Regions from separate parts of the Homo sapiens genome. Here region 2 is linked to region 1. Evidence: promoter capture Hi-C in human tissues and cell types (Jung and others, 2019). All regions are on one chromosome and are shown on one strand. The core of a region is centred on a gene start or on the middle of the fragment in contact, and the rest is flanking DNA. Distances in the headings are between cores, read along the strand shown. Region 1 holds the start of PDK4 (pyruvate dehydrogenase kinase 4). Region 2 has its middle 41 kb from the start of PDK4-AS1.

Evidence for each region. Contacts are between HindIII fragments. The study calls those that stand out against the background at their distance.
Region 2: a fragment that was not itself captured here is called in contact with the fragment with the promoter of PDK4 in region 1 in 2 of the 25 tissues and cell types used here (H1 embryonic stem cells and heart right ventricle).

The regions. Positions count from the first base shown.
Region 1 is chr7:95,594,070-95,598,347 of GRCh38, reverse strand. It overlaps PDK4 (pyruvate dehydrogenase kinase 4), which reads left to right and starts at 1,832. Exons shown (of 11, transcript NM_002612.4): 1 at 1,832-2,184; 2 at 3,184-3,325. The coding sequence starts at 2,055. It overlaps PDK4-AS1 (PDK4 antisense RNA 1), which reads right to left and starts at 1,669. Exons shown (of 3, transcript XR_001745287.3): 1 at 1,565-1,669. RefSeq lists a silencer at 2,257-2,551. The HindIII fragment of the contact is 14,852 bases long and covers 1-4,278 here.
Region 2 is chr7:95,635,441-95,639,718 of GRCh38, reverse strand. No RefSeq gene overlaps it. Among named protein-coding and RNA genes, the nearest start is that of PDK4-AS1, 41 kb to the right of the region's middle. The HindIII fragment of the contact is 6,474 bases long and covers 1-4,278 here.

The sequences.
Region 1 (4,278 bases), core at 583-3,082:
CAAAATTGATACCTATTAGACATCCAAATGGAGAAACCAAATAGGCAATTGAATAGGAGAATCTGGCTCTTGGAAGAAAGTTTGTGCTAGAGATAGAATTGGAAATCTGTCCTGTGATTTAATGCAGTCTCCTAGACGAAGAGGGCAAAGGATGACAGCAGAGCCTAGGATCACTCATGACTTTCAGAGTTGCCCGTTCTGCTTATAAATGCAGGGCAGGCTGGGCGCAATGGCTCACTCCTGTAATCCCAGCACTATGGGAGACCGAGGTGGGTGGATCACTTGAGGTCAGGAGTTTGAGACCAGCCTGGCCAACATGGAGAAACCCCATCTTCACCAAAAATAGAAAAAATTAGCTGAGTGTGGTGGCGTGTGCCTGTGATCCCAGCTACTCAGAAGACTGAGGCAGCAGAATCGCTTGAACCTGGGAGGCCGAGGTTGCAGTGAGCCGAGATGGCACCACTGCACTCCAGCCTGGGAGACAGTGTGACTCTGTCTCAATAAATAAAGTAATTAATTAATTAATTAAAATAAAATAAACGCAGGGGGAGGAGGCCAAAAAGGTTTTTTATAACAAACTATCATTTTTAACACCTCATAAATTCCCATTCTATTACATTTGTAACCAACTCTCTTACTCCCAACTTTCCCAAACACGGTGGCTTCATTCCCTAGTCCTTTTAGAGTGTCGGGAGAGGAAAAGGAGGTTAGTATGACAGGGTAATGTGTCTCAACCACTGTCATTAATTTAATAAATATTGAGTAGTGAAAAAGTAGGAATCACAAAGCTGCATCAGACAGGGTCCCTACCCTGATCTCTTTCAGGAAAGGGGGGAGTCAGAGAGGGATAATATAAAAACATAAATAGCTATAGAATAGTACCATGAAAGACCAAGGCCTTATTTGGAAGAAGTGAGGAGAAGTAATCAAGGAAGACCTTTTGCAGCAGACAGCTTGTGCCAGACATTTGAGGGTAGAATGGAATGTCTTAGGTAAAGATTTGGAGTAAGGACATTTCGTACAGGGCAGAGTGAACAAATTCTCTGATCACCGCAAAAGGTAAGGCAAACTGACAAATTGATCCCTTTTTAATTTTGTTTTTAATTAACAGAACTAAACCTAACGGAAAGAATGTGTTGCCGGAGAAGAACGAATTGATGGCCTTTTATTACCACAGGAAAAAGTAAATGTATCTGGGCAGCCCCTCAAGTCTCAGCAAAAGGAACGTACAGTTCCTGCCATGTGCCGGTCTCTTCTGAAGAAAAGGGGGCGGTGGGGGTGGGGGCGCAGGTCTTTAGGTTGTTTATTCCTTTCTCTCTGTCCAGTGGCAGAGAAGCCCATACTTTTGAACGCAGCTTGTTGGCTACTGTAAAAGCCCTGCTCTGAGCAAGGACCAATGAGCACGCGGAGTCCAAACTCTTGGAAACAGTTTGTGGCCAGGAGTACTTGACATTGAGACAGCCTCCGAGTTGTAAACAAGGGCGAGCCTGGGCGGGACCCCAGCCCACGCGACTCGGAGCCCCGTCCCAAGAGGCTAATCTTAAGCCCACGTTGCCCCAGATACCTGTTTCTGCTTCCTCTTCCCTGTTCTTCCCACCCTTTTTCCGTCACAGCCGCGGGCACCGGTGCCAGGGCACTCCGTGGTCACCGTGCCAGGCCATTCTGTGATGACCGCGGCTGGAGGGGCGGAGCCCATAGTTCTTTCTCTGATCTGATTGGCGCGACCTGGAGTTCAGGACGCGTTTCCAAGTTCCAGTGACTCCTCCTGTTTGGGACTCGGGGGGAGAGTGCGGGGAGACAAATAAAACCTCGGGCGGCGGCGGCTGGTGGGAAGACTTGAACTTGAATCTCGAACCACTGCATCTCCGACTCTGCCCAGACTCTTCACTCCGCGGCACCCTCAAACCCCAGCCCAGGCCGGGGCGCACAAGCCAGCCAGCGCACCTGCAGTCCTCGCCCGGACGCGCCGCGCCCCCTCGGAACCAGGCTCTGCTCCGAGCAGCCTTCGCCCCTCAAGCCAGCCACAGTCCCCGCCAGGCCGGGTGGGCGTCAAGATGAAGGCGGCCCGCTTCGTGCTGCGCAGCGCTGGCTCGCTCAACGGCGCCGGCCTGGTGCCCCGAGAGGTGGAGCATTTCTCGCGCTACAGCCCGTCCCCGCTGTCCATGAAGCAGCTACTGGACTTTGGTGAGAGGGGACACAGGGCCCAAGCTGGGTCCTAGGGTTGGGGAACTGCCTTAACTTTCAGCCTTGGTAGAGGGAGGGCTAGGCTCAAGCTAAAACAACTGGGGTTCACTTTGCTGCTGAGCCCTGGAGCCTCGACGCCAGCACACCTTTCCTTTTCCTAGATTTGGTTACTTTCTGACAGGGGTGCCTCCAGGTCAAGGCCACCTGCAAGCCTGCCGACGCTGGATGGTTTGACTTCATCTGCACACTCTTCTTTCTGACCCGCTCTTCCAGTCAAAATACTTTTTGCTTTCGGTCACCGTTTAACAATGGACTGGAAACTTTATCCTCTCCTTCACAGCATAGTACTGCTTGGAGAAGTTTCTGAATAGTATTAAATAGCCTCAAATTAACAGATTTTATTCCTTAGCCACCTGGCATCCTTCCACAGGGTACATCTCTCTGCATTCCTGACAGATTTCTTTGTCTCTTTATCATTATAGTTTTCCATATATTTGCATTGTTGCTGAAAATATTTACACATTTGTTGCAGTAATCTTATAAGGAAGATTTCAAGGGTTTAAATGTGATATCACTACTCTGGAAATATCACAGCTCCCCCTCCAGCCTCTTATCCCCCAACTCCAATTCCATGTCCCCACTCATTAAAGGATGTTGTGTTGTTGACATTGTGGTGTGACCGAATCCTGCAGTCTTTTATAAATTCTAAGAACTGTGGGATATTCTTACTTCTTGGAAGTGAATCCTCTTCAAAAAGAGAAGACAATAATTCTCCTATATCTGTCACTTTTTAAAAGAAAGAAGGAAAGACGAAAGGACGAAGGGAATTAGTCAATTAAGGAGACAATCGCCCCTGAATTATCGATTAACAGTAACCCAACTGAGAGTGAAATATAATTTTATAATATATGTGTGTTCAATATTTGATAGTTAATGCTATTTAGATATATCATTTAGACACACTTTTTCTCAAAACTAAATTGATTTCATTTATTATAGGTTCAGAAAATGCATGTGAAAGAACTTCTTTTGCATTTTTGCGACAAGAATTGCCTGTGAGACTCGCCAACATTCTGAAGGAAATTGATATCCTCCCGACCCAATTAGTAAATACCTCTTCAGTGCAATTGGTTAAAAGCTGGTAAGTGGTGAACCATATTGAAGTCTCTAGTTTTGAAACAGTTACCCGGGTATGAATTCTTATACTATGTTAACATCATAATTGGAAAACAGGTGATCTGAATGGTAACTACTTTTGAAAGATGTAAGAATTTTAAAATTAATTTAGGGTAAGTTATCATTAGAGAAGTTATAAAACTATAAACAGACATTTTTACCCTGAAAAAGTAGATTACTTTATAATAAAATTTTGAGTTCTAGGAAAAATTTGAAAAAAATTGGCATGCAATTTTAATTTTCAATTATAGAAGAGCACTTTCAATAATAAAAGAGTTTGATATTGCAAAAGAAATCCTATGCCTAGAAACCAATTCACATGACTGCTATTTAGGGAAGGCCTAATCTTTGTAACTTACAAAGTGATTGACAGAGTGGGCTCTGGGTTCAAATCCTGCCTCTGTCACTTCTAGTTGTGGAATCCTTGGCAAGTGTCTTAAACTCTTTATGCCATTGAGTTATTATTCCCATCTGTTATTAAAGAGATTAAAGTATATGCCTCAGAGGGATGTTTGAGTGTAATGAAATGAGATAATCCATAAAAAAGAAAAAAAAAACCACTTAGGACAGCACTTGGCACACAGCCAGCAGTCAGTAAGTGTCAGTTGTTGTCATCTCATTTTATAAATGAAGATACTGATGCTTAGAGAAGGTAGGTAACCCAAAACAGCAAATTTTTGGGTCACAGAAGCAGGATATGCACAGGTAGCAGACATGCATGAGACCCTTATCTTAATCCACTGACTGCACAGCCTTTTGTTCATTGATTCAAGAAATACATGTATTATATACCTATAAGACAATTACAATCTAAAACATATATTCAATCTGTAGTATTTACTATTGCAGTCAAGACTTACACTCTTCTATGAATGAATGTAGTAGAAAAAAAATAAAAAGCTTTAAAAAAAGTTGTTT
Region 2 (4,278 bases), core at 851-3,350, 41 kb before region 1:
GATTCTTTTATTCATCCTTTCTTTTACCTGGCTAAATATTCAATTCTATTTATTCCACTGCATATGGCATCTCTAAGTCATATGATTCATCATTAAAGTCATCAAAATTAGAATCTCTGGTGCTTGATTATCTCCATTACTCTAGGGAAAAAAACTTCCTTATGTCCTTCTCCTGTTCTAGCTGAGAGATGAATTTAAATATTTTTCCCCAAGCATTGGCTTCTGTGGCCACTTGAAACCTGCACGTTGTGCACATGTGCCCTAGAACTTAAAGTATAATAAAAAATAAATAAATAAATAAAAATAAATTTAAAAAAAAAGAAATCCTACTAACATTTCTCTGGAATCTTCCTTAGGCTTCAAACTTAAGCTAGCTCAAAGCCTATTTTGGAGAATTGGACTTTAGTTTATATATAAAGAAAATAAAATTTTTAAAAAGTACACACACTGGAGCTATATTCTGAATGAGTGGCAAAATTTATCACTTTTATTTGGGAAGGTTTGTTTCTGTGTCTTATTGTTATTCTGTTAAAGAAACAGCCTCTGGGCTAGTCTGGAAGAAAGAGATTGAGAAAAAGCAGGCGTTAAATTGTGTTATATAATAAAGTAACAGGGATTCTTGATTTGTCCCCTGGCAACCAGGGGGAAAGGAAGTATTAGAGACCCCAGGAAATATGAAGGAAGTGAGAAGATGGGAAGTTTAAGTCCCCAGAAACCTGAGACATTTGGGGTTGAAAAGAAAGATAACCCCTAACGGATTCCCCTGCATAGGGGCTGGCCAAATCCTTCAGGAATAGAAGTAGAAAATGTGGACCTGCCCAAAGCTACATAGCATGAAGGACGTGGCTAAAATTAGATGTGTAACTAGAATATTAGAGACTCAGAGATCTATAGATTGTGTATAATATACAGTTTTTTTCTTCTTTAAAAAGTAAGTACCATTTCACCTTCTAACAATATTTATGTAGAAAATTATCATTGCCATACTTTTGATAGGTCATTCTCTTCAATTCAAAGAAAACCAAAGCAAAGAATTGGTTATTCTCTGCCAGTCCAAATCATACAGAAATGTTTAGACACTGACAAAAGAATCTTATTCTATTTTACATCTCTGAGTGGTATCTAAACATTCCTATGAAAGAGTACATGTAGAGTAAGTCATGTTGGTTTCTGGCTACCCCATTAGCCACAGTCCTCCTGTACCTCTCTTCCATCAAAGAGGACACAGGCATGACCCTCTATTATCCAGATGACATAAAATGAGATTGAATTTAAGGAATACCATAACTCACACCCTCATAAACATTGGGCCCTTTGCTGTTGAGTTCAGCATCACTGGGCTGAATTATTCTCAATACTAGACTCCTGACAGTCACAGCGAGTAATTAGAACTGGGTCGTGAGATGCAGTGGACTCCTCTTGTTTCTGTTTCTCTTCCTCTGAGCTCACCTGTCACTACAGACATTGCTACAGCCAGCTCCTCTGCTCACCTCATGTGAGCTTCACCACTTTTCTCTCGCTTTCTGACTTTGGTAGTTTTTCTGCTACCACCTTGAAGGACCCCTTGAGACCCTGCCACACTTCCACACTTGTGTAACCTGGAAGTGCAAGCGAGTTAATGCCAGAGGGCAAGTCTTCATCAATGGAGAATGGGAGCGGGTGGATAAATGCCCCCACCCATCCCCTGGATGGTCCACTCTGAGGCATAGACTACACTGATTATCAGAGTCTCAGTTGCCCACAGCAGTGACTAACTCAAGAATGCATCCTTGTGCTGGCTTTGTCACTGTCTCTGCTTCACTCGCCACTGTCCTCCACTTCAATTCCTGGGATCTCTTCCTCAGATGAAGTCTGTAAAAAAGTTTTTGCTTTTTGAGAATACCAGACTATGCAAACCATAATCTAACTGGTGAAGCATGGGTCACTTTTGTTAAAAAAAAATAATTTGACTGTTATTTTGTTATGCTTATTTTACAGTCTCTCCCTCAAGAAATCCATAAAAAACAAACATATGGCATGATAAATTGTCCTTTACACCTCTTCACTGCCTGAAAGAAAATATTGTCATGTAGATAAATTTCATCTCGAATTAATTGGCTTCATGTTTGCATTTTTAAAAATAATCTGTAGATGTTCAAATATTTCCACTTGGTTTTATTGTTGACAATTTAAAGTAAACAGAACATTCCAACTTATCTTTTAATTAATTTAACTTTAGATCTGGCTTTACATTTATTCCTCTTTAATATATTAGCTTATTTTTACACTTGGCACTTGTTTTTTAAGAATTCTATGAGATGATTTTGATAGAACCTGATGTCAAGCTTCCCAGAATTGTCCCTGCCCTCTTGGAAATTCTGGTCATTTATGCATATCCTGTCCTCATTATGCTTTAAAACAAAAAGGAGGCATCTGAGATGCCTCAGTAAAATCAAGACAGGTTTCCTGTCTGCGGTTGCTGCCTGGTTTCTGGGAGTCCATGGAAATGGGAGTTGGAGTCCATGGAAATAGATTAGCAATTATGCTATTCCTTCAGTGGCCATTTGTGATGAGGGCCTGGCAAATAAGTAACAAATATATATATATATATATATTTGTTATCCCAAATATATATATATATATATATTTGTTATCCCAAATATATATATATATATATATATTTGTTATCCCAAATATATATATTATATATATATATATTATCCCACAGGTTAGTATTAGAATATTGCCCCGGCCCATCTGACCTGTGAAAGCAAGTGTTTCTGTACCTGTTTCATCACTTCACCCTTGTGCACTCCCACCTTCATCATTCAGCAGCTGTCTCCATTCTCATCCCATTACTGCACCTAGGATATATTTTCAATGTGGTGCTGGATACCACCTGCCCAGAGACCTGACTACCACAATCTTTTACTTAGCTGGGGCTGTCTAGGCAGAGAGACAAAGGGTGTAAAGGGATGGTTTGTTTCACAGGGCCATGGAAAAGTCACCTTTTGTCACCTACAACCATTTGTTTTTTTCTTTGAAAGAATGTCTTGGTTACTAAGAGGACTCCTTAGTAACATGAAGAAAGGATAGGTCCTCATGGTATTTTTTTTGTTGTTGTTGTTATTCTAATAACCCACTCACCCTTTAGTACAGTCTTAAAAGTTCAAGCCTAGTGCTTTATAACTTGCTGTCTAATGCTTTTGTAATGTAAAGTAACTTTTACATGATTCCAAAGGAAAAGGAAGAGGCCCCTTTAAGAAGTAAGCTTGTGATAACTTGTGATCGGTTAACCGATTACTTCCTGTAAGTGAGTTAGGAGCATACTTCTAACTGTGATCAAGTGGATGTTACCTGGTTCTGCTTTGATAAAAGCTGTTCAGAGTCAAGTAGCAGTGATGATTTAAGGTTGAATCAGTGGTAGGCCACAGTGACCTCTAAAATGAAGTAATGAGTCATTAATGGTCTTAGGAAAATTTTGATGAGGTTACTTATATTCTTTAGTTGTGGTAAAGAATAAAGGACAATCCTTGAACACACTGTGAAAGTCCTGTGGCAACTCAGAAATGAGAAAAATTAAAGTGCTTCCCTAGAAAGAAAAGCATGTATATCAGTAAGTAAGGCTTATAACCATTTCTCACTGACAAAGGAAATAATTGCTGTTTGGCGTACTCATAGCCTTTAATCTAAATCTCAGTGTTGGAAATTTTTCTTTAAGATCATCTAAAAAGCTATGTAAATAAAAAAATACTTGCACCTTTATTTATAATAGTGAGACGTTAGAAACATCCTGAATAGCACATTACATGGTTATTGGTTAGATAAATTATAATACATTAATTTAATAGAATAGTGTGCAGAAAAGGAATTTTGTGCAGAAAATATTGTAAAGACCACTCAGCTATTATTCAACATGGAAAACATTGATGATATCTTACTGAAAGACAAAGTTTCTCAACCCCAGCACCACTGACATTTTGGGCCAGATTCTACTAGTTGGTGTTGGGGGATTGTCTTGTGTATTATAAGATGTGAGCTGAATCACTGGTTTCTACCCACTTGATATCAGTAGCACCATCACCCCAGCTGTGACAACCAAAAATGTCTCCAGATGTTGCCAAAAGTCCTGGCCTATGGGTGGAAATTATCAAAATGACACTGGTTGAGAATCACTGTTAAAGGGGAAAATTGAACTACAAATCTCCTATATTATGATTAAATGTAAGAGGAATTAAGCATTCATCTAGATTAAAATAAAGAATAAATGCAAAAATCCAAACATTTATTTATTAAGGT